Regions from separate parts of the Homo sapiens genome. Here regions 2, 3 and 4 are each linked to region 1. The links are contacts of gene promoters, found by promoter capture Hi-C in human tissues and cell types (Jung and others, 2019). All regions are on one chromosome and are shown on one strand. The core of a region is centred on a gene start or on the middle of the fragment in contact, and the rest is flanking DNA. Distances in the headings are between cores, read along the strand shown. Region 1 holds the start of PARVG (parvin gamma). Region 2 holds the start of LINC00207 (long intergenic non-protein coding RNA 207). Region 3 overlaps LOC124905132 (a long non-coding RNA gene). Region 4 overlaps LINC00229 (long intergenic non-protein coding RNA 229).

The links. The method cuts DNA at HindIII sites, captures the fragments that hold promoters and counts their contacts. A contact is called where the count stands out against the background at its distance.
Region 2: a contact is called between a fragment that was not itself captured here and the fragment with the promoter of PARVG in region 1, in 1 of the 25 tissues and cell types used here (small bowel).
Region 3: a fragment that was not itself captured here is called in contact with the fragment with the promoter of PARVG in region 1 in 1 of the 25 tissues and cell types used here (lymphoblastoid cells).
Region 4: a contact is called between a fragment that was not itself captured here and the fragment with the promoter of PARVG in region 1, in 1 of the 25 tissues and cell types used here (dorsolateral prefrontal cortex).

The regions. Positions count from the first base shown.
Region 1 is chr22:44,175,611-44,182,174 of GRCh38, reverse strand. It overlaps PARVG (parvin gamma), which reads right to left and starts at 1,250. Exons shown (of 14, transcript NM_022141.7): 1 at 990-1,250; 2 at 258-433. RefSeq lists enhancers at 1-532, 533-1,263 and silencers at 640-769, 1,940-1,989. The HindIII fragment of the contact is 25,740 bases long and covers 1-6,564 here.
Region 2 is chr22:44,568,634-44,575,054 of GRCh38, reverse strand. It overlaps LINC00207 (long intergenic non-protein coding RNA 207), which reads right to left and starts at 5,715. Exons shown (of 4, transcript NR_028411.1): 1 at 5,614-5,715; 2 at 4,467-4,555; 3 at 3,563-3,679; 4 at 2,606-3,016. RefSeq lists an enhancer at 303-842. The HindIII fragment of the contact is 7,273 bases long and covers 1-6,421 here.
Region 3 is chr22:44,661,834-44,667,798 of GRCh38, reverse strand. LOC124905132 (a long non-coding RNA gene) reads left to right here. Exons shown (of 3, transcript XR_007068127.1): 2 at 130-215; 3 at 2,800-5,799. Among named protein-coding and RNA genes, the nearest start is that of PRR5, 37 kb to the left of the region's middle. The HindIII fragment of the contact is 3,376 bases long and covers 795-4,170 here.
Region 4 is chr22:44,614,404-44,620,889 of GRCh38, reverse strand. The region is part of intron 3 of LINC00229 (long intergenic non-protein coding RNA 229); the gene reads left to right. Among named protein-coding and RNA genes, the nearest start is that of LINC00229, 7.8 kb to the left of the region's middle. RefSeq lists enhancers at 420-1,184, 2,286-2,787. The HindIII fragment of the contact is 8,753 bases long and covers 235-6,486 here.

The DNA.
Region 1 (6,564 bases), core at 1-2,500:
TTCACCTGGAGACGGAGGGGTTGGCTGAAGTTCAGAGGCGGCAACTCCTCAGTAGAACAGGGAGGGAGGACGCCGAGCAGCCTCTGAGCAGGGGCAGCCGGAGGGGCCGTGGGGACTCAAGGTCCCACTTTACCGACTCCCTTCCCCGGGTGGCCTGGGCTGGGACTGCACTCTGGGATCCTTCCCAGGTGGTGTCTGGGCCCCTCCCTCCGTGACCCCCAACACTCAAGTATGGTGGCCCCGATGCCAGAACTCACCCAACCGCTTTCCACGCAGGAAAACAAAGGCCTACTGAGTGCAAAGGGTGGTCCCTGGATTCCGAATGGAAGCAAGTTCCGGGTTCTTCTGGGGTCTTCGGGGACCAGGCCGGGAGGCAGGAGCCCCGCTGCTCACTTCCTCCAGGCCCGCTCAGCCGGCAGGAGCTTCCTCCTCTCTGCGGCAGGGCCCGAGGGGGGTGGATGCCGTGAAAGTGAAGCTGCCACAAACCTCCAGAAAGCTCTGCCCGGAGCCCCAGCGCCCGCCGTGCCGCCTGGGCCCCCGGGGTTCTGCAGGCCACTTAAACTCAATGCTTTCATTTCTCCCCCTCTCCCCGCCTTCCCCAAACCATGCCAGTTTCCCCGCAGGCTGTTCACCTCCAAAATGGCAGCTACATAGGCCAGAGCCTGGGGTCGACCCCCGCAACCCACCACCAGCACCCTGTCAGCCTGGCCTCCACCCTCCATCCCGCACCGCCGTCCTCCCACCTCCACACCCCGCCCCGGGCCAGGCCCCTTCCTCTCCCGGGACCACGCAGGAGACTCCTACCTGGACTCTCGGCTGCAGACTTCCCCACGCCCCCTGCCCGCCCCTGAGCTGAGGCTCCCACAAGCCCTCGGAGGAGTGAGTCACTTCCTGACCCCACTCACTCAAACCCACCAACGGCACCCAATAGCTCTTAAAATAAAATCCAGGCTGTGCGTGGTCTGTCTCTCTCAATCGCGGTTACATACCCGTGTCTAGAACAATGCTTGGCACAAAGTGGGCTCAGTGAATAAATATTGGTGGTGGTTGTTGCCAAGGGGATCGGGAAGGCTTTCCAGAGGAGAATGGGGCCTTGACGGCTGCATAGGAGTTTGCAGTGGAAGAAGAAGGGGTGAGAACGTGGCAGGTGGAGAAAACAGCGTATGCAAAGGCATAGCAGGGTTCGAGAAGGAGAGATCTCAGCACAGTAGATAGAGAAACACTTCAGACCCGAGCTGGTCTCTCAAGCTGGAATCTTCACCATCCGGGCTGAAATGGTGAGTTTCCCTAGCAACAGGTGACTGGGAAGCTATCTACCCTTTCTGACAGGTTAGGCAGAAAGTGGCTAAATCAGGTGGGATGCAGGTGTAAGGAGTGTGTGAGAGCAGGAAAGTAGGGTCGTTTACAAGAAGTTAATAAAAAATGACAAAACTTAGTACTGGTATTGTTGCTAATATTTATGGAGTCATTGGTGATGAAACAAACATAATTTTAAGGGCTTTCATTTTACTGGAAACTTCCTTGTGAGGTAGGTACAATCATCACCCCCATATTACAGAGGAAGACACTGAGGCACATGAGTCAGTCCCTGCCATTCTGAAGTGCCCGTGCTAGACTGGGGCTTGTAACAGGTGGGGAGAGAAGCCACCGTGCAGGACCTATTTTGCTGGGGCGTGTGTAGCAGGCTCAGCCCAGCTCTGGACACAGTGGTTCTGGTGGTGGCTTCTGACTCTGGATCACAGCCACATAGATGTAGCAGCAGTCACAGTCCCAGCAGCAAAGAGACGGTATATTCCCATGTGCTAACTGAAGACTGTTTAATAAAGGGACAGCTGGGGCAGGGTTAAAGGAACCCAGAAGAGACAGTGCTACACCCCAGGCTAGCAACATGGGGAGCTGTTACTTCTTCAAAACCTAGAGGGTGAAGGAGGGAGTGGGTGGCAGAGCCCAGGAACAGAATCACTGAAGCTCTAAGAGGGGCCTCGGGATAGGAGCTGTGGCCTTTGGTAGAGGGACACAGCCAGCTCATGGTGAACCAGCAGAAGGGCACAGCTGGAGGAATCAATGACCAAGCCTCACTCTCCTCCCTCCTGCCAGGGCCTCCCCTGCCCACATCCAGCCAGAAGCCAGAGAAAAGAAGTCCCCTGCTGCGGCCCATAGATGTGAGGAGAGAAAATGGTGGGGAGTGGATCTGCAGAGGTGAACCTAAAGCATTCAACCCAGAAAGCATGCTTCTAGGGCCAGCCTGACTCGGCAGCTTCCTTCAGGAGCCAGCTCTGCAGTATTCTTCCAAGAGTCCTTGCTGGAGGCGCTGCCTCCAGCCTTCCAACAGCTTGAGAATCACACAGCTTCCTATGTTAGATTCCTTTCTCCTCCAAACAACTGAAGAGACTCTAATCATCGGCAACTGAATCCCAATTAACTTCGGATTTGTTACCAGAAACAATTGCAGGCAACACGACCTCCAGGATGGGAACTGGGATTGGTTACTTGTTCTGGTTGATTTAAAGGCAGTGGGGACCTAGTAACTGTTAGAGAATGGAGTTCTAATAGATCGTAGCCTGTGATGGCAAAATAATTACCTGTCATCACTCAGAACGAAGTACCTATTAAATTGTGGCTTTGGCAGAGTTGTGGCTTCCATACGCAATACGAGCACAGGTTATCTAAGGACTGTGGGGTGAGCTTGTTATCATCACACCAAAGAGTTTAAAGCAAGAAAAGGACAGTCCCAGGGCTTTACATTCTCAGCTCAAGGTATGTGCAGAATACAGGGAGTTCTCTGATAGCCCTCAAAGCTATCTCTCATCTCTTGGGGCTGCAGGGCTGATGTAAGAATCAGATGCGAAATCTAATCCTGTATGGTGTGGAGTTACAACAGACTAAATCCACAACTCACAAAGCCTCTTGTGTGTAGAGCATTGTTTAGGGGAAGAGAGGGACTCTAAGAATTGGAAGAGTAACATGGAGATAAGTCCAAGCACCCCCAAACCCCAATTAAGAGAAAGGCATGGATAGAAGGGAATTATTCCAGCCTTTTTTTTTTTCAGAGACACGGTGTGAAATATACCTGTGCAAATATGCCAAACACTACTGAACTGTATACTTAAAAATAGTTAAGACAGTACATTTTATGTTACGTGTATTTTTAACCACAACTAAAATTTTTAAAAATTAATAAAAAATAAATAAATTGCAGGGATCACATCACTTTAGGGATATCTCTAAATACTTCAGAATGTTTCTCCTAAAAACATTCTCCTGCATAACACAGTACCATTATGATACCTAAGAAAATTAGCATTGATAGAAGGTTTTCTAATATCTCATCCACATTCAAACTTCACCAAGGCTTCAAAAAATGTCTATTACAGCTGTATTTTTTTTAATCCAAGATCCATTCAGGCATCACACAGCACATGTGATTGCATTTGGTTTTCATGTCTCTTTAGAGCCCTGTAATCTAGAACAATCTTTCACGACACTAACATTTTTTAAACATCCAGGTCAGTTGTCCTGTAGAATCTATCACTTCTGTCATTTCCTGGTCTGCTTCTGTGGACTGATTTTTCTCCCGATTGTGGGTCACAGTTTCCTGCTTCTTTATAATAATGTTTTATTGAATGCTAGACATTAAATTTTTATGTCGTCGCGTGCTGAATTTTGTTGCATTTCTTTAAGAAGTGTTGGAATTTTTCTGGCAGAAATATTCTTTTGATGTCTGTTTTTAATAAGCGTAATCTCTGCAAGCTCTGATCTTTGTCTCCTTAAATCAGTGAGACCTGGCTCTGTCTGGGTCCCCCTCACTACAGCACAGTCCAGGAATTATGTCCAGGCAGAAAGCCAAGACCAGGGTAGGGCTCACCTCACTTGCCACCCTTTTCTTGGGGATCACAGATCTGACTCGCCTCTTAACATTTTACTTTTATATAGTTTCAAACTCACAGAAAAGCTGCAGGAAAGTACAAAGAGTTCCTATGTGTATTAGTCCATTTCCATGCTGCTAAAACAGACATACCCAAGACTGGGTAATTTATAAAGAAAGACAGTTTAATGGACTCACAGTTCCACCATGGCTGGGAAGGCCTCACAGTCATGGTGGAAGGTGAAGGGGGAGCAAAGGCATGTCCAATGTCTGAAGTAACTGTTTCCTGTGTTTTGTGGAGGCTTCTAGTTATTCCTGATGGAAAGGTAACTCCAAAAGTGAAAATTCTTTCCTCATAAATATTGATCGATTACAAAGAAGAGTTACATTTTTTAGTGTACAAATTTGATAAACACTATATTAACTAAGTAATATATATTTTTTAAAAATAGAAACAGTGCACTCTGTCAGACTGGAGTGCAGTGGTGTGATCACGGCTCACTGCGGCTTTGAACTCCTGGGCTTAAGTGATCCTCCTGGGTAACTGGGACCACAGACGTGTGCTCACATGCTAAGTAATCAAAATTAACATCATAAGAAAGTAAAACAATCAACATGACATGTCTCCTGGTAATGATGCGCTGAGAGGAACACATCACTTCTACCGAAAACGCATAACCTGGATCTAATAACGAGGAAAATACTAGATCAATCCAAGCTGCAAGACATTCTGGAACATAACTGGCTTGGATTCTCCAAAGAATCAAGGCTATGAAACATAAGGAAAGACTGAAGGGCCACTCCAGACTACAGGAGGCTGGAGAGATGGGACAACTCATTCAATGCCTTGTCCTGCCTCTTATTTTGGCATAAAGGACATCATTGAGACAATTGGAAAAAAACACAATTAAGGTTTGTAGATTAGACAATGCCATTGTATCAATGTTATTTCCTGATTATGACACATACTGAGATTATGGAAGAGAATGTCTTCACTTTTAGGAAGCTACACTGATGTATTTAGAGGTGAAGAGGATATAATGCATGCAACTTACCCTCAAAGATTCAGAAAATATATATATCACCAGGTAAATGTGTGCGTCTAAAGAAATATATATCATTATTATTATATCGAGAGAGGCAGATAGGCAGGGACAGAAAGAGAGTGAAGAGGATAAAGTAAAAATGTTAACATTCATGAGTCTCCAGGTAAACATAGTGATATGGTTTGGCTATGTCCCCACCCAAATCTCATCTTGAATTGTAGCTCCCATAATCCCCACGTGTCATGAGAGGGACCTGGTGGGAGGTAACTGAATCATGGGGACGGGTTTTTCCATGCTGTTCTCATGATGGTGAATAAGTCTCATGAGACTGGTTGGTTTTATAAAGGACAGTTCACCTAAACACACTCTTTTGCCTGCCGCCATGTAAGATATGCCTTTGCTCCTCCTTCGCCTTCCACCATCATTGTGAGGCCTCTCCAGCCATGTGGAACGGTGAGTCCACTAAACCTTTTTCCTTTTAAAATTACCCAGTCTTGGGTATGTCTCTTTTAGCAGCATGAGAATGGATTAATACACATAGGAACTCTTTGTAGTATTCCTGCAACTTTTCTGCGGGTTTGAAACTATATAAAAGTAAAATGTTAAAAGAAAAAAAAAAGCCTTTGCTCTCATCCTAGTTTAATATCACTCTAAGTGCACGAATTAAAAAAAAAAAATCCAATGTGTTATACTCCACATTGCTCCTTCAGATGCTTGAAGTATCCAAAATGTGGACGCTGTTTGTGCCTCTGTCCTTTTGACATGTCCCCATCATTCCTTGAGTACAGTTGGCCCTCCATATCCTTGGTTGCACATTCATGGATTTAACCAACCACGAATTAAAAATATCAAGAAAAAATTGCATCTGTACCAGACACATACAGAATTTTTCTCCGTCATTATTCCCTAAGTGATACAGTGTAACAACTATTTACATAGCATTTACATTGTATTAGGTATCATAAGTAATTTAGAGCTGGTTTAAAGTATGCAGGAGGATGTGCGTAGGTTATATGCAAATACTGTGCAGTTTGATATCAGGGACTTGAGCATCTTCAGATTTTGGTATCCTCCAGGGTCCCGGATTCACTCCACAGAGGATACCAGGGACAACTGTGCTTCCCTGCTTTCCGGCACAGTGTTTCAGGCTCACCTTGGCAATACATTTTAAGAATGAGATTGTGGGAGGAAATCTAGCACTACATTCCAAAGCCATCGAGAACATCAGAACCCTGTGTGGATGTTTCGAAAACACACCAAACATCCACAAAGGTGTTGCATACTTTAAGGTGACAGTCTTTCCTAAAAGCTGTCCGGTGTGACCATGTCCCGGCTGTTAGGACCAGCCACATGGCCACCTAAATCCGAGGGGCTGGGGACTGGAAGAATATGTGGCCTTTGCCCCATTTCCCTGGTGTCAGAGACCTCCTTACCCGCCTCTATGCCCAGATGCAGCCCTCTGCTCCATCTTCGTCCCAGACCTGCCCCCAGCTGCATTTCTTCATCGGCCTCACTGTGTTGTCCACCTGCCACTCCACTCTCTCCTGGTTCCTGTGCCCTAGCACACCCCCACCCCCCCACACCCAACGCCTCAGCGGCACACAGCAGGCTCCCACTACTCACTGACCCAATGAATGCTCCAGGTCCTACTGT
Region 2 (6,421 bases), core at 1,614-4,113, 390 kb before region 1:
CACACTGCAGCCCGTGACACGTTAATTAAACTTGATAAATGCTCTTGTCTAAAGATAACTTTTGAACAAAGGATCCAGTCACCTTATTAGCTGGCTACATGCTCTGGTAAATTGCCTGGGAGGCTTTTGGAACTCCCTAGGGCCTGTGGCTGGGGACCGCAGGGCTCTGTCTTGGGGAGAGGGCTTCTCGGCTCTCCCAGTTCTGGGGATGGGCAGTCGCGCTATGGCGGGGGCACCCTACACGTCCCAGGGGCTGGGGAGGGCACTGTGGACCTGGAGGGCAGGATGGGTGTCTCAACCCAGCTCCCACCGTGGGCTCCGTCCTCTTCCGATTTGCAGTTCCCTTCACAAGCCCCTTCCGGCTCAGCAGCCTGCCCTATCACCATAACAATCCCATCCCACATGAACCATCCATCAGGAAGCCCACCAATATGACGGCTGCCCCCGCTGTGGCGTGGTCCTTGGGGCCCATCCTGCAGTGGTGTCATCTTCATGCCATTCAGCTACCGGTCCTCCTCTCCCTCCTTCTCTTTCTCCTCCTTCATCCTCCTCCTCTTCTTCCTCCCCACCCCCAGTGATCTCGGCTCACTGCAACCTCTGCCTCCCAGGTTCAAGGGATTCTCCTGCCTTAGCTTCTCAAGTAGCTGGGGTTACAGGCTTGTACCAGCATGCATGGCTAATTTTTTTGTATTTTTAGTAGAGGCGGGATTTTGCCATGTTGGCCAGGGTGGCCTTGAACTCCTGACCTTGGGTGATCCACCCGCTTTGGCCTCCCAAAGTGCTGGGATTACGGGCATGAGTCACCTCACCCGGTTGGCAGAGTCAGTTTCTAAGGAGAGGGAAGGAGGGGCACTGGGCAGGCTCTTGGCAATCTCTGCCAGGAAGGCTTTCCCAGCTCTGAGTAATTCTCTTTGTAGCACGTCTCAATTGCAATTTTATATTTGCTTTTTTCTTGACTTATTTGATGACTGTGGGCTTCACAAGGGCAGGGGTTTCTGTATTTTCTATGTTCCCCAGCAAACAGTAGGTGTGTAATAAAAATTTGTTGAGTGAATGAATGAATGAATAACTTTTCTCTGTATCCCTAGGTAAGCTCCTCTCCTTCTCTGGGCCTCAGTTTCCCCATCTATAAATCAGCCCATCTTTAAGCCTTCTCCTGCTTCTCAACCTCATGATGCTGCCCTCACCCAGCGCTCCAAAGATCAGATAGGGTAAGGTGGAGGGAACATTTATTAGGCACCAACTGTGTGCCAGGCCCTGTGCAGGGCAATGGGAGCTTGAAGATGGATCTGACAATGTTCTGGCATTCCAGAGACAGGGTAAGCAGTTCCACAGTGTGGCCTGTGGTGGACACGGAGAAGCCCCTGGGTGGTGGAAGCCAAGAGGAGGCACCTGACCCTGGATGGAGGGTCAAGGAAGGCTGCAGGGGCCTGAGTGATGGGTGCAGAAATAATAGGAGGCAGGCCGGGCCTGGTGGCTCACGCCTATCATCCCAGCACTTTGGGAGACTGAGGTGAGTAGATCACCTGAGGTCAGGAGTTCAAGACCAGCCTGGCCAACATGGTGAAACCCCGTGTCTACTAAAAATACAAAAACTAGCCAGGTGTGGTGGCGGGCGCCTGTAATCCCAGCTACTCAGGAGGCTGAGGCAGGAGACTCACTTGAACCCAGGAGGCGGAGGTTGCAGTGAGCTGAGATGGCACCACTGCACTCCAGCCTTGGTGACAGAGCAAGACTCCACCTCAAAAAAAAAAAAAAAAAAAAAAAAGAGAAAGAAATAATAAGAGGCAAAAATTCCAGGCCAAGGGAGCTGCCTGTGCAAAGGTCCATGGTCAGGAGAGAGCATAGGTCCCATTCTGTTGGTGTTGCCCTGAGGCAGGGGATAAAAGGGGACATTGAGGCCCAAGAGGCAAGCCCAGGATGAATCAGAGAGGCCCAGAGGGCAGTGGGGAGCTGTGGGTGAGCTTAAAGCAGGGAAGTGGCATGATCAGAATTGTGCTTCAGCATGAGCAAGCTGACTCTTCTGAGAAGGCCGGCCCAGAGGGCCAGAGGCTGAAGGCTGGGACGCGGTGCAGAGATGGCACCTGGACTCACCAAGGCAGCCTCCACTGGTGACTGGATGTGGGAGACCTCTGCACTTGTTCATAAGGTGTTTTCATGACCCTTCATTCACTTAATCCTCCAGATTATAGCCCTGGGGACAGGCATTGGCGCTAGGTCACACTGATGGCCCCACTCTCCCACCTTCTTTGGAGCTGCCCGTTTCACCGGGGCTGGGTTGGCCTGCCCACCTCTCACTCTGGGCTTGGCCCTGTGATCCATGTTGGTCAACAGGACAAAGCGGAAGTGGCTGTGGCCCACCTTGAGCTGAGTCTCGGGGGGCTGTGTACCCTCTGCTTGCTCTCCTGCACCTCTGCCATTGCCACGAGGACACACCCAGCTCAGCCTGGGAGGGTGAGGAGCACTCAGGCTCATTGCCAGCAGCTAGCCGCCCACCAGACACGTGGGTGAGCCCCGCCAAGACCAGAAGAATCGCGCCACAGAGCCCAGCTGAAACTGCTGAACTGTGAGTCAAATAAACACTTATTTGAAGCTTCCAAGTTTTGGGTAGTTTGTGACACAGCTTTATTGTGGCACTAAATACAGTTTTCTGTCCTTATTTTAAAGACTGTGTCTTTTGAGTTTTCACGGCCAGGGACCCTGCTCTGAGGTCCGTGTGATTTGCCTGCACTGTGCGACCTCCCAGCGCCGATCTCGGAGGCCTCGGCTCCCGGGGGATAGGAAGGCGGTTTTGCCTGGCCCTGGGCTGCGGCAGTGCTGGAGCCTCACCTGTATCAGTGTGGCCGCTCCACTCTGCTGGCTGTTCACTCATCGCCACTGCTGTGGTTCCAGCCGGGAGCAACAGCATCATTATCTTCAAGATGCAGCAGCAGGAGTCTTCATCTGATTCTGAGCCTCACGTCTCAGAGCAGAACTGACTCCCGCTGGGAGGTGGGGCTGCATCCTCTTTGTGAAGCTGAAAATGAAGAGGAAATTGTCATCGGGGGTTACGAAGAACGCGGTGGCATTTGCGACAGATGGCAACGCAGCTAAGTTTCCAATCATCGGGCTTGAAGCCGTTCTTTATTTGTAACTTTGCCTTTTCAGTGCAGATAAGTTCGGGCCTCGTTATTTCTCTCTAGGCTTATGGCGGAAAGCTAGGCATGGTGCTGCTGGCCATGGGGCAGGGTCCGAGCACCCTCCTTTAGCTGGCCTGTCCAGCCTCGCCTCTGATGCTGTCTCTGCTGTGCTATGGTGTAAGGAAGAAGCCAGAAGGCAGGCGATGTGGGTTCCAGCCCTAGTTCTGCCTGTTACTGGCTGTGTGGCTGTGGGCATGTTATGGTCCTCTCTGGCCTTGAGGTTGTCATTTGCCACCCTCTACACCAGCTGCCACTGGGGCATGGGGGAGGAGACAGAAGATGTTGGTGGGAGGCAGACCATGAGGCTCAAAAACATCAAGGGCACAGAGAGGTCAGTGGGGGCTGAACACATTAGCCAGGACTCCCAGCAGCAGGAAACTCACCAGTCCAGCCTGCTCTGCTGACAGGACGTCCCTCCAGATGTCCAGAGGAAGTTCCAGAGGAAGTCTGCCAGCTTCATCTCCCGAGCCTCCATTTCCTCATCCGTAAAGTGGGTAGGGCTGTGGCAAAAGTTCCATGGCATGAGGTGCGAAGAGTGCTCACCTAGGCCGGCACATCATGGGCTCTCTGGGGACATGGACCATTTTCTCCTCCTCCCGAGGCAGGCCAAGCTCCAGGAAGCAGAAGACCTTCCAATGTGGGAGGAGAGGGTACTCAAGGGGTAGCCCAGTAGGGCTGAAGGTCTTCCCCGGTGCCCTGTGCAAACATGGGGGCAGGTGGGTGGTGCATGGCAGACCTGGTGTTCCTGGACATGGAGGCAGCCCATGGCCACAGCTGTGCTGAGACTCAGGCCACTCAGTTCATCCCTCTGCATCCCTCTCCCCCTCCTCCCTAAAGCCCTGCAAACCTGCCTTCGTGGCCCTTTTCTTCCCTGATGAGGCTTTGGAATGAGCTGCTTTTTTTAGCCTCTCCAATCAGGCCGGCATCGTGCTTGGCTATTGTTAGCATCTCAGCTCGACGCCTCCTTCAGAAAGTGATGAGATCATCCTCCCAGAGGTCCACGGTCACCTTTCCACAAGGCTCAGCAACGTGCAGACCTCTCCTCCCATCCCCTACCCTGGTCCCAGGACAGGGACAGTGACAGCACTGAGAAGAGGAGTCAGGGACTGAACTAGGAGCAGGAAGGGAACTGGGAGTGAATGATCAAGGAGAATCTACTGTGGGCTCCGGACAGCGTCCTCTCTGCCCGCCAGCAACCCTTCCTTGCCTCTGGGGCCAGCACTTTGTTTTTCCCTCAAGGAGCCAGCTCACCTTCTGTGTCATGCTGTACTGACCCCCACGCCTTACCAGCCCATCATGCACGGTGTTCCCCTCTGGTTCAGTGATTGGATCCCAAGCAGGATGTGTAACCATCCATTCTCCTCTTTAAACAGAACCTGTTTTGTTGGAGTGAAAGTTTGCCCCCTTAAAAATAGGTGTTACCAGGTTCCCTTGCAGCTAGGAGTGGCCATGGACATAAGAGGAAGTCTGCCAGTTTAATTTCCCATAAAAGGGGATGGTCTCAGGGGCACACACCCTTCTTCCTGCCTGGAATGTGGATCTGATGCCCAGAGCAGGAGCAGCCACATTGCAACCATGAGGATAAAAGGTGCAAAGACTGGACTTTCTGACAAAGATGGTGGCACAGATGCACACATGTACATTTGCCTCTTCTTGAACCCTCACTAAAATGATGGTAAAGATCACTTTACGGACATTACCCTCAAGCAGAAAGAGAAAAGGGGAGGAGGCCCAAGCACCAACATTTTGGAGACTGGAAACCTGGTGGATGAGCCGTAACCCACTAGGTGAGCTTGAGAAGCTGAAACATGGCCGGCCAGCAGCATGCAAAGATGAGAAGCAACAATGGGCTGGGAGGATGGAGATGCCAGATATTTCTGGAGGGGAGTGAAGGAGGATTGTTTCAAACAACAGCAGTTAGTCTTCCTCTCACGGGAGGGACAGAGACAGAGACAGCTATCCACTCCCACTGCTTACACAACTGGGAGATTGCCCCTCCCTGAGCCTGGCAGAAACCCCAAGATTTATTATCAAGAAAGGGTCTGGCAGAGGCCTCTGGACTGGGGGATGCCACTCCAAAAGCAGGGCATGTACTGAGTATTGGAGACCCCCGCCTCTTTCTCCTTGCAGCCCCCGGAAAACCGGCAGCCAGGCCTCACGTGCAGCAGGGGGGAGCTGGGGGATCATTTTGGTTGGGGTCAGTTCCACTGACCTTCCTAGTGGAAATCCTCACACTCTGACCCCCAGTGACCCCCCGGGGAAGCAATCCGCCAGATCACCTGCAGTGGAGACCGCAGTCAGAAAACGCTACCCAAGGGCTCAGCACTTCCAATCAGCTTCTTTGTTTTTTAAATGAAGTAGACATTTAAATGACGTTTATATTCAGTGAAGTGCACAGATCTTAGCACAGTTTGATGAATTTTGGCAAACTTACTCCCATGTCACACGCCTCCCTCAAGGTAGAGGACATTTCTGCCAGCTGGAAAATCTCTCACCAGGTCACCCTCCCATCTGATCCCCGTCTCCATCGCCTGTCCTCCCCATCCCCTGCAGGCCGTGCTGTTCCGATTTCTATCAGCATAGAGGAGCCCTGTCTGTTCTAGAAGTTCATATAGATGACATCACACAGCACATACTCTTCTATATCAGGCTTTGTCACCTAGTAGAATGTTTTTGAGAGTCATCCATGTATTGCAGGCCTCAGGGGTTTGCTCCTTTCTGTGGTTAAATGATCTTCCATGGTTTAGAATGGAATATTTATCCACTCTCCTCTTGACGGACATTTGAGTTCTTAATAGTTCTTGGCTATCACAAATAAAAGTGCTATGAACATTCTTGTACAAGTTTTTATGTGGACATGTGCTTGCTTTTTTTTTTAATTGAATAAATAACTAGACATAGAATTGTTTGGTCACAGCAATTTTGTTTAACTTTACGGGAAATTGCCATATTGATTTTTAAAGCAATTGTACCATTTCACATTCTTACCAACAATGTATGCATTCTAGTTGCTCCGTATCTTTGTCAACACTTGTTAGGGTCTTTAAATTTTAGCCATTCTGGTGGATATGTAGTGGTATCTTGCTGTGACTAAAATGTGTACTCCCCTCCCCCAATGACTAATGGTGTTGAAGATGATTTTTATGTACTTATTTGCCATTTATGTATCTTTTTTGGTGAAGTGTTTGTTTAAATCTTTGTCCCATTTTTGGGAACTTTTAATTTTTTTTTTTTTTTCCAGA
Region 3 (5,965 bases), core at 1,233-3,732, 480 kb before region 1:
TGGTGTAGTGATTGTTTTAATGTTTTAGAATGCAATTGTGCAAATATTTGTGTCCATATTCAGTTGTAAAGCTTTTTTTTTCCCCTTCCATCATTGTGCTTGTTTGACGCTAAGCCACTCATCCCCCAGAAACAGTGTTGACATGAGGCAGATCAGATGGCCGGCCTTCCTGGTGACCAGATTTCAGGACAGCAAGCATCCCGGCCAGACCCCAGGTACTCTAATGGGGTCCATAGGGCCCTGGGAGTGAGCAGCTCTGCCTGAACTGCAGGATGGGGCATCCTAGAGGGAGGAGAGGGCATCTGGACAGAGGGGCCTAAAGTGTCTGGGTGGCATCTAGACTGGGCAGACAGTGCCTGGATCGAGTACTGGGGTGGGGCTGGAAACGGCCCAAGAGGTGCCAGAAGGAGGTGGAGCTGTTCTGAGCCCCGTGCTGCCAAGAGGGATGTCCTGGCCTTGGAGGGACCTTTGAGGTCATCTAATCCAGCCTCTTGGTGTGTGACCACTAGGACCTCCCCCACTTCTAATTAAACTTTCCTTCTTTCTTTCTTTTTTTTTTTTCTTGAGACCGAGTCTCGCTCTGTTACCCAGGCTGGAGTGCAGTGGTGCCATCTTGGCTCATTGCAACCTCTGCCTCCTGATTTCGAGTGGTTCTCCTGCTTCAGCCTCCTGAGTAGCTGGGGCTACAGGTGCCTGCCACCATGCCCGACTAATTTTTGTATTTTTAGTAGAGACAGGGTTTCACTATGTTGGCCAGGCTGGTCTCAAACTCCTGACCTCAGGTGATCCACCCGCCTGGGCCTCCCAAAATCCTGGGATTACAGGTGTGAGGCAGCACGCCCAGCCTAAACTTTCTTATTTTGAGATAATTGTAGATTCACATGCAGCTATAAGAAACAGTAGAGATGTCTTGGACCCAGTTTTCTCCACTGGTAAAATCTTGCAAAATTATACTACAATATCACAACCAGGATATTGACATAGATGCCATCAAGGTACAGAACATTCCATCAGCAAAGGACCCCCCCGTGGACTTTTTATGTGCTTATCTCCCTCCCTCCTCCCTCCTGGCAAGCACTTATCTGTTCTCCATTTCTGTAATTTTATCATTTCAAGCATGTTATATAAATGCAGTCATACAGTATGTTACCTTTTGAGATTGCTTTTTTCACTCAGCATAAATCCCTGAAGATTCTTCCAGGTTGCTTTGTGTTTCAGTAGTTTGTTCCTTGCTATTGTGGAGTGGTCAGCATTCCATGGAATGGGTGCATCATAATTTGTTTAGCCATTCACTTGTCGAAGACTATCTGGGTTGATTGCCAGTTTGGGGCTATTACCAATAAAGCTGCTATAAACATTTGTGTACAGGTTTTTGTGTGAACATAAGTTTTCATTTGTCTGGGAAGAGTGCCCAGGAGTGTAATTGCTGGGTCGTATGGGAGTTGCATGTTTAGATTTTTAAGAAACTGCCAAAATGTTTTCCAGAGTGTACCACTTTGCCTTCCCAGCAGCAAAGCTTGAGTGATCCAGTTTCTCTGCATCCCTACCAGCATTTCGTCTTGTCCCTGTGTTTTATTTTTGCCATGCTGATAGGTGTGTAGTGAGATCTCATGGTTTTAATTTGCCTTCCTCTAACGACTATTGATGTTAAAGATTCAAAACGATCTTGAGAGCTTATTTACCATCTGTAAATCCTATGAGTGGTAGGTGTGTTCATGTCTTTTGCCTATTTTCTAATTGGATTTTTTTTTTAAAAAATGTTCATTAAATTTCTTTCTCTCTCTCTCTCTCTCTCTCTCTCTCTCTCTCTCCCTCTCTCTCTTTTTTTTTTTTTTTTTGATGGAGTTTCACTCTTGTTGCCCAACCTGGAGTGCAGTGGCACAATCTTGGCTCACTGCAACCTCTGCCTCCTGGGTTCAAGCGATTCTCCTGCCTCAGCCTCCCGAGCAGCTGGGATTACAGGCGCGCGCCACCACATCTGGCTAATTTTTTGTATTTTTAGTGGAGACAGGGTTTCACTATGTTAGCTAGGCTGGTCTTGAACTCCTGACCTCAGGTGATCCTCCCACCTCGGCCTCCCAAAATGTTGGGATTGCAGGCGTGAGCCACGGCGCCCGGCTGGTTATTTCTTTATGGTGTAGTTTATTCAGAAATTCATGAATTCCCTGAGAGAGAGGAGAGTTGTCTCTTTTCTTCCCCAAAGTATCTCTGGGTGTTTGGAAACAGTCTTTGGCACGTATTAGAAGGTGGCTAATAGGTATTTGTTGAAAGAATCAGTGAGTAAATGAATACATGACCCCATGGTGCGTGGTTCTGGCCACGTCATTTGTGGCGCCCCCTGCTCCCCAGATCCATTCACTGCCTACTTTGTGCTCCCTGAGGCTGACCTGGGTGGACGGCATCCCCCACCTGGTTACATTTGACCCATGGAGGCAGTTGCTGGAGATCAGCCGGAGAGAATGAGGCATTTCTCCTCTTGCCCTCTGCTGACCCTTGCAGTCCCTGCGGGTTGCATGCTGACCACAGCTCTTTCCCGGATGCTCTGCCAGGCTTTAGCTCCACTGGCTTCCGGGGGAAGCACCATTTCCTTCCCTCCCTTCTGCAGCCCCAGGGCTGGTAGCAGCTTCCCTCTTTTGCTGGCCTCTGGCTCTCCCTAACCTGCCCACGCCTCTGTGAACATGAACCACCTGGTCAGCTCTGCCTTCTGCTGGGACCCTGACTGTAACAGATAGATATCATTATTATTATTATTATTATTATTATTATTATTATTGAGATGGAGTCTCGCTCTGTCACCAGGCTGGAGTGCAATAGCGTGATCTCGGCTCACTGCAACGACTGCCTCCTGAGTTCAAGGGGTTCTCCTGCCTCAGCCTCCCGAGTAGCTGGGACTACAGGTGTGCACCACCACGCCCAACTAATTTTTGTATTTTTAGTAGAGACGGGTTTTACCATGTTGGCCAGGATGGTCTTGATCTGTTGAACTCGTGATCCGCCCGCCTCAGCCTCCCAAAGTGCTGGGATTACAGATGTGAGCCACCGTGCCCAGCCAACAGATAGATATTATTGTTGCCACTCTACAGAATTGGAAACTGAGGCTCAGAGAGGTTATACATCATGCCCAGGACCACACAGCAAGTCCTGACAGAGCCAGGGTTGAGCCCAGGCTCCCTGGCTTGGAGCCCATGCTGCTGGCTTTCAGAGGGTTTTGAGCTCTTCTCCTCTGAGGGGCCCAGGACTGGGGTCAACATGAAGGTGCCTCAGGTGACCCAGAAGGCAGCTGAGACCTGGACCCCCTCAAAGGCACGCGGGTGCCTGTCATAGCTCTGGCAGTGACCACGAGCCCATTGGCCTCTTCCTCCCTGTGAGAGCTGAGCATGTCTCTGGGGCCTGGCAGGAAACCCAGCCTGTGTGTGTTTCTGCTGCTCAGTCACGTGAGACTGTGGGAAGCTGCTGGGAGGCTCAAGTGAGGCCCCTGCCCCAGCCACAGTGGCGGCCTGACCTCACATTTCCTTCGCTTCTTCTCTGAGTGAGCAGATGTGGCCAGCACCCACCACGTGCCAGGACCGTCCTGACACCCTGAGGGCGAGGGGGGCACCGTGGCAATGTATCGGAGGGAGAGGGCACAGGCTCTGCAGCTTGAATACTAAGGCTGAGTCCCTTCTTGAGGGACCCCAGGCTCCTTGCTCCTGCAATGGGGACCATTGCACTTGCTAATTTCACATGTTTATCCTTTCATTTATTTGCCTATCCATTGGTGGATGGAGCCGTTAAAACATAGTTAATGAGCCTTTGTTTATAGCCTGCAGCTAAGAAAAGAGCTCTGTGAATCTAAAGCCCTGTATGAAATGTAGTTCTCTGATGGGGGCGTCTGGGTACCTCCCACCACTGCCCCTGTGTAGCCTAGGCCAAGAGGGCCTTTGGTGCCATTGAAGGACTGAGTGAAAACCTGACTTGTCTGAGGGCTCTGTGCACTGGGGGGCACCCCTGGACCCTACCCTGTCCCCTGTCACCATAGTCAGGGAGACAGGCCCGACAGTGCACAGTGACTAACCCAGGGCCACACCATGTGTTAGGCAGAATAATGGCCCTCTCCTCAAAGAATTCCATGTCCTGATCCCTGTAGCCTGTGAATTTGTGGCCTCACGCACTCCTTATGGCGAGAGGAACTTTGCAGATGTGAATCAGGGTCTTGAGATAGGGAGAAGGTGCTGCATTCTCCCAGGGGGCCTGACATCATCACAAGGGTCCTTATAAGAGGTGGGCAGGAGGGTCAGAGTGAGAAAAGGGCGAAATGACAATGGGAACAGAGAGAGATTGGAAGATGCCACCTCTGTGGCTTTGAAGCTGCAGGAAATGGCCACAAGCCAAGGAATGCAGGTGCCTCTGGAAGCCAGAAGGGCAATGAGTGACCAGATTCTCTCCTAGAGCCCCTGAAGGAGCACAGCCCCACCCACACCACAGCCTCCAGAACTGTAAGAGAAGAAATTTATGGGTTTCTTTTCTTTTCTTTTTTTTCTTTCTTTTCTTTCTTTTTTTTTTTTTTTTTTTTTTTTTTGAGATGGAGTCTTGCTGTGTTGCCCAGGCTGGAGTGCAATAGTGTGATCTCAGCTCACTGCAACCTCTGCCTCCCAGGTTCAAGCAATTCTCCTGCCTCAGCCTCCTGAGTAGCTGGGATTACCACGCCCAGCTAATTTTTGTATTTTTAGTAGAAATGGGGTTTCCCTATGTTGGCCAGGCTGGTCTCAAACTCCTGACCTCAAGTGATCCACCCGCCTCGGCCTCCCAAAGTACTGGGATTACAGGTGTGAGCCACCATGCCTGGCCAAAATTTGTGTTGTTTTAAGCCTCTAAGTTTGTGGCTATTTGTTAGAGCGGCCACCAGAAACCAGGATACCCGGCAAGGCTGTGACTGGAGCCTGGGACTTCTGCCACCCAGCCTCTCTGCCCGGGATGGGACCCCTGTTCCACGGCCTTCCATCCAGAGCTCCCGGGCTGTGAGATTGCCTGGGTGCTTCGAGATTATTTTTCCTTCCATAGAGTGCTTAAAATGTTACAAAGAATATTATCTGTATAAAAGAACTTGAATAATGTGGAAAAAGCTCACCCAAGCTCACCAGCGTCGCCAGCACTCACTGGCAGAACTGGAACCTGGAAGCCCCTATGGGCTCCTCCCCAGGCAAACACTGCTCCATCCTCCTGGAGGTGCTTACCCACCTGAAGCATGTGCTTTACAGTTTTACACACATTTGTGCCCACAGGGCACCTTTCATGGGACACTCGTGCCAGCCAGGGGTGTGTAAGGAAGATGGAGACTCTGTCCCAAACAGGGCTGCAGCGTCTCCTGAGAGAGGTGAAAATGACCTCAGAAGCCAGTTTCTGATGACAGGCCGGACAGGGAAGCAGCTCTCAGCCTCTGCCTGGGGCTCCTGGAACACCTGCTACCTCGACTCTCAGGCCTCACCCCTGCCACCCTGACCACCCCGCCCCCTGCAGCTGCTGAAGGGCCCTTCCTCTTGACTTGCAGATCTGACTGTGATTGAAAGGTAGTGTCTGTGCAGGAAGGGGACCATCACACACCGGGGCCTGTTGTGGGGTGGGGTGAGGGGGAGGGTTAGCATTAGGAGATATACCTAATGTTAATTGCAGCACACCAACATGGCACATGTATACATATGTAACAAACCTGCACGTTGTGCACATGTACCCTAAAACTTAAAGTATAATAAAAAAAAAGAAAGGTAGTGTCTGTGTAGCATTTTGTGATTTGAAGGGGAAATAAAGTTTTCTGAATAATAACGACATGACCTTTGTGTGTATTTTCCCCATCGTGTGCTCTGCTTTTCTTTTGCGTTTTAGCTTCTCAGACATGACCTTTGGTCTCAGATGCTCAGCTTGGTGGCAGCACTTCACATGCAGGGGTGAAGGGAGGTCCTCAGCCCTGGCCACGCAGGGGTGAATTCCA
Region 4 (6,486 bases), core at 3,362-5,861, 440 kb before region 1:
CTGTCCAAGGCCAAGGGGCTGCCGGGGGAGCCGGCATACATGAGGGGCCCGCCAGACCCACAGACACGGATCCAAGCCATCTGGGGACCCAGGCACTTCCGGGCCACCTGGCCCAATCCCGTTTGTGTTTGCGCTCCATCCTTAACCCATTCTGCTCCTGTTCATCCATCATCCCCCGGTGTGTCGGCTTCTGGAAGGGTCTGTGGGGGCCCAGCCATCCCCAGGCCCTGCGTGGGCGGCTGTGATCCCAGGAGCAGCTGCCAGAGAGGCCCAATTTTGACCGTCGGAGGGGGATGTGTTAAGCGCTAGGCTTCCCTCATCCCCGATTAGTCGCCATGGCAACCTCCTAGCAACCACGCAAACAGGACGTGTGCAGCCGGCGCCGTGTGGTTGTCGGAAACGGGGACTCGCGGTGCCATCCGGGGTCACTTTGGGGAGGCCGAGGTCCAGGCCAAGGACCCGGAGCCCGGGAGCCGCCCGTCCGCCCCTTGTGTATTTCACTTTAAGTGACACCAGCATTGCCCAGAACACAATTCGACCCCGCCCAGCCGCAGCGCTGGACCCTCAGCAGGTCTGCACGTCTGGGGGTCACAGCGGCCTCCTAGTTTCCGGGAACGCCGCCTGCACCGACAGGCTCTGCTGACCCCGCCAGTGTGGCTGAGCCTGGTTCCCGCCACGTGGGGTTTTGCGGGCGTCACTGAGAGCGGCCTGGGCCCCGTCACAGCGCTGACCCTGTGCTCACCCCTGGGCTTCTCCCACCCCCGTGGGCACGCACACCACACCCACAGACTCATCCTGTACCCGCAGACACGCACCACGCACACTCCACACGCACGCTCCACAGTACACACACCTCACACAGACACACACCACGCACCACACTTCACACACACACTCCACAGTACACACACCTCACAAAGACACACACCACGCACCACACACACACGCACTCCACAGTACACACACCTCACACACACCACGCACCACACACACTCCACAGTACACACAACTCACACACACACCATGCAGCACACTTCACACACATACCACAGTACACACAACTCACACACACACCATGCAGCACACTTCACACACATACCACAGTACACACAACTCACACACACACCATGCAGCACACACGCCTCACATGGACACACACCACACACCACACACTCTTCACACGCACACTCCACAGCACACACGCCTCACACACACACCACACACACTCATACACACTCCATAGTACACACACCTCACACAGACACACACCACGCACCACACACACTTCACACACACACACACTCCACAGTACACACACCTCACACGGACACACACCACACACCACACACACTTCACACACACACACTCCACAGTACACACACCGCACACGGACACACACCACGCACCACACACACTTCACACACACACACTCCACAGTACACACACCTCACACACACACCACACACCACACACGCACTCCACAGTACACACAACTCACACACACACCATGCAGCACACACACCTCACATGGACACACACCACACACCACACACTCTTCACATGCACACTCCACAGTACACACGCCTCACACACACACCACGCACCACACACACTCATACACACTCCATAGTACACACACCTCACACAGACACACACCACGCACCACACACACTTCACACACACACACTCCACAGTACACACACCTCACACACACACCACACACCACACACACTTACACACATTCCACAGTACACACACCTCACACGGACACACACCACACATCACACACTCACACACACACATACTCCACAGTACACACATCGCACATAGACACACACCACGCACCACATACCATGCTCCTTCACTCATGGACACACATACATCTACATACACACACACATTACACAGTACACACACCTTACACAGACACACACATATACCACATACACACACCCACACACTCACTCCACAGGCCCCTTTGCTTGAAATTCCACCACACCCAACACCTCACCACACTTTCGGTGGGCTGCCCAGAAAGGGTATTGGCCGATTGGAGCCCCCACCCCTGAGAAATCCACCCAGAGAGGCCCCCTGCGTCTCCCCCAGCTCCCGCCCAGGAGCCCTGTCTATCTGTCCATCTGTCTGTCGGTCTGTCTGTCCGTCTGTTTGTCTGCACTCTCCAGTCCAGACCTCTCTGTAGCCCCAGGGAATTCAAAAGCTGCGGCTGCCCCTCAGGAGTGCGGGCACAGCATGGGAGGCAGGATGCACGCCCCTGCCCCTGCCCCTGCCTCTGCCCCTCCCTTCTCCCTCTGCACCTGGAGAAGCCGCCGTCCAGCAGCCCCAGGCCAGCCACGGGCGCTCTGGGCCTCGGGGAGCCCGGACACCGCACGTGAGGCTGCTCTGCTGGGGCAGGTGGGTGCGTCTGGACCTCCCCAGGGTGCTGGGGGGAGGATGGGTGCACAGCAGCCTTGGTCCGGGTTGGCCCAGCCTGGCTGAAGGGACAGGGTGCCTTTTTCCTTTCGTAGAGTATGGTCGTGTCACCTTAATTTTCTGTTGTCTGCTGGGCACAGCTTCGTGCTGCTCCTCACTGCTGCACCCAGTGCTGGAAAGTGTGTGTGTGGCTTGAGTACATCTGGGTGTGAATGCGTGTGCCAGTGTTTCCGCCTAGGTGTGTGGTGTGTGTGTGGTGTGTATGAATGAGTGTGGTATGTGCATGAGGTGTGTGGTGTGTGTGGTGGCTGTGTGTGGTGTGTGTGTGCACATGTGTGGTTGGTGTGTGTTTATGTGGCATGTGTGCTGTGCATGTGCGTGTGGTGTGTGTGTGCTGTGTGTGCCTTTGTGTACATGTGCGGTGTGTCTCTGTGGTGAATGTGTGTGTTGTGTGTGACCAGTGTGGTGTGTGTGTGGTGTGTGTGTGTTTGTGTGGTGAATGTGTCTGGTGTGGTGTGTGTGTGTGCCTGTGTATACGTGGGTGGTGTTTCTGTGTCTGCCGTGTGTGTGTACATGTGTGGTATGTCTGTGTGTGGTGAATGTGTGTGTTGTGTGTGTGTCCAGTGTGGTGTGTGTGAGGTATGTGTGTGTGTGGTGTGTGTGTTTGGTGAATGTGTCTGGTGTGTTGTGTGTGTGTGCCTGTGTATACGTGGGTGGTGTGTCTGTGTCTGGTGTTTGTGTGTGTACATGCATGGTGTGTCTGTGTGTGTGGTGAATGTGTGTGTCATGTGTGTGTCTGGCATGGTGTGTATGTGGTGTGTGTGGTGAATGTGTCTGGTGTGGTGTGTGTGCGCCTGTGTGTACGTGTGTGGTGTGCCTGTGTGGTGTGTGTGTGTGTACATGTATGGTGTGTCTGTGTGTGTCGTGTGTGTGTGTCTGGTGTGTGTATGTGGTGTGTGTGGTGAATGTGTCTGGTGTGTGTGTGTATGTGCGCGCCTGTGTGTACATGTGTGGTGTGTCTGTGTGTGTGGTGAATCTGTGTCTGGTGTGTGTGTGGATGTGCATGCCTGTGTGTATATGTGTGGTGTGTCTGTGTGGTGAATGTACGTCTGGTGTGTGTGTGTGTGTATGTGTGCGCCTGTGTGTACGTGTGTGGTGTGTCTCTGTGTGGTGAATGTGTGTCTGGTGTGTGTGTGTGTGTATGTATGCCCCTGTGTGTACGCGTGTGGTGTGGCTGTCTGGTGTGTGTATCCAGTGTGGAGTGGTGTGTGTGTGCGTGTGTGCGTGTGTGCATACCTGTGTGTATGTGTGTGGTGTGTCAGTGTGTCTGGTGGGTGGTGCATGTGTGGGGCAGGGAGGGTGGATGTGGCAGTCTCAGGGCCTCTGGGAACAGGAAGTGGCCGTGTGGAGAGGGGCCCCGGGTTGGCCCGGGTGGGGACTCATCCTGGTTCCCTCCTTCCCGGACTGACCTGGGTGGAGACTTATCCTGGCCGCCTCCCTCCCAAGCTGACCTGGGTGGGGAGTCATCCTGCCTCCCTTCCTCCCGGGCTGGCCTGGGTGGGGGCTCATCCTGGCCGCCTCCCTCCCTGACTGATCTTGGTCATTCCTGCCCCGACTTTTGTTTCCTGGCTCACGGGTGTGAGCAGGTGTGCAGGTGTGTTGGGTGGAAGGTTCCAGAACCAGAGGTCAGAAGCCCTCCCTGCCTACACTTTCCTCCTCCCATTCCTTTGCCGGGCAGAAGAGCGGGTAGCAAAGGTTCCCAGGTGGCCCGGTGACTTGGGCTCTGGCACGCCTGTGTCTGCACCTGGGGACTGATGGGGTGGGGACCGGGAGCCTCAGCTGTGGGGCCAGCGTGGGCACCCCATGCAGTGCTAAGATGTGGAGAGGGCGACTTTGTTGCTTAATTAGGAACAGGTGGCCTTTGATCTCTAAGGTGTCCTGGTGGCCTGGCTCTCTGTTTCCTTAGCAGGCACTGGGAGTCCTCCTGTTGAGAAACTGCTCAAGGGAGGTGCATTTACTAGGGACACGGAGAACCCCCAGCTTGGCTCCCCGTGGATTTGTGGCTACACTGGCCTGTCACCGGCCATTCTGGGCATAAGCGGGGCTGGGGAGAAGTGTCCCTAAAAAAGAGGACTTGACCAGAAGGGAGAGGGCTCCAAGGACAGCAGGACTGGAGGTCAGTCTAAAGGTCAGAGCTCGTTTTTCCATTCTCTGTCCGAGACTGGAGGTGGAGGGGCTGGCCCGAGTCCTATAGCCAGGTGTGGGCAGAGTCACTGGAACCCGAGTCTCCAGAGTCCTGGGCTCCTTCTGGAGACAAACCAAGCACCAGGGAGAATCCTCAGATCCCTCCTGATGCTCAGGGCCCAACCTGCAGGCCTGGGCAAAAACCTCTTCTTTCCCTGGGCACAGATCCCCCCCGGGAGGTGCAGGGACCATTTACCATACTCCCTGGAAGCCGGGCCCCTGGCTGAGTGCTCTCCAGGGATGACCTCAGCTGACCCACCTGGCCACCTATAGAGGAGGATCCTGTTCTCAGAGAGGGTGAAGTCACCTCCACAGGGACAGGGAGCTGGAGAGACGGGGGGGAGGGTTCTGAGCTTGGCTCAGACACCATAACTGCCCTCTTCTGCATGCTGGAAGCCCAACTTCGAGGGACTGGTGGATTCAGTTCCTGGCAAGGGCTCTCTCCTTGGGTTTGCAGGTGGCCACTGGGTCTTCACAGGGGGCTGGAGAGACAGGACCCCAGTGCACCCACTCTCAGCAAACCCCCACACTAGTGCTGTCATTAGCCGTGTCATGCTGTTTATTATCCCTACTGTTGCATTGTGAGTTTGTGCGTGGTGCTATCCCCGCTACTGCGATCACTTTTGTTATGGTTGTGATTATCAAAATTATTGTTGTTTCTACAGTCACTGTTATTGTTGCATTTATTATCGCCGCTTTAATTGTTATTCCTCTTTGGTGCCGACTCTCCCGGCTGTGTGCCAACTTCCCATGCAGCCGCGGTTCTCAGCACAGCGACTTTGCCCCCCAGGAGACACTCGTGTGGAGACATTTCTGGTTGTCACAGTTGTGGGGAGGTGGGCTGCTGGCGCTACTGCGTAGAGGCCAGAGGCGTGGTTGGGGCCTGCGATGCACAGGTCAGGCCCCACCACAGGGAGTTACCTTGCACAAAATGTCAATGGCGCCCTGGCTTCCACATCATCCAGAGCAGCTGGAGCCCTTTGCTGGGGCAGCAGGGAGTTGATGGGGGGAGCGGGTTCAGGTTTCTAGAGTCTTCTTTGGGAAAATGAGCATGGGGTCGTCACGGTTAAAGCTCTGCAAACCAGACCTCTGGGTTCCTACTTGGCTTCAACATTTTCCTGCTGTGTAGACTTAGCCTGCCTGGGATTCTAGAACGAAATAACATGGACTAGGGGCTTAAACAAAGGATGTTCATCTCTCATAATTCTGTATGCTGGAAGCCCAACTTCGAGGGGCTGGTGGATTCAGGTCCTGGCAAGGGCTCTCTCCTTGGGTTTGCAGATGGCCACTGGGTCCTCACAAGGGAGAGGGAGAGAGAGGAGCATGAAGGGGAGGAGGAGGAAGAGGGCAGTTACAGTGTCTCTTCCTCTTCTTATAAGGCCACTAATCCCATCACAGGGGCCCCATCCTTATCTAAACCTAATCACATCCCAAACACTCCACCTCCATATACTGTACTATCACATTGGAGGTTAGCTTCTTCTTTTTTTTTTCTTTTTTTTTTTTGATAGAGTCTCACTCTTTTGCCCAGGCTGGAGTACAGTGGTGTAATCATGGCTCACTGCAGCCTCAACCTCCTGGGCTCAAGCAATCCTCCTACCTCAGCCTCCTGGGTGGCTGGGACCACAGGCATGCACCACTACACTGGCTAAGGTTTTAAAACATTTTTTGTACAGAAAAGGTTTGGCCATGTTGCCCAGGCTGGTCTTAAACTCCTGGGTTTAAGGGCTCCTCCTGCCTTGGCCTCCCAATGTGCTTGGTTTGAAGGCATGAGCCACTGAACCTGGTCTCAAAGCTTCAACATATGAATTT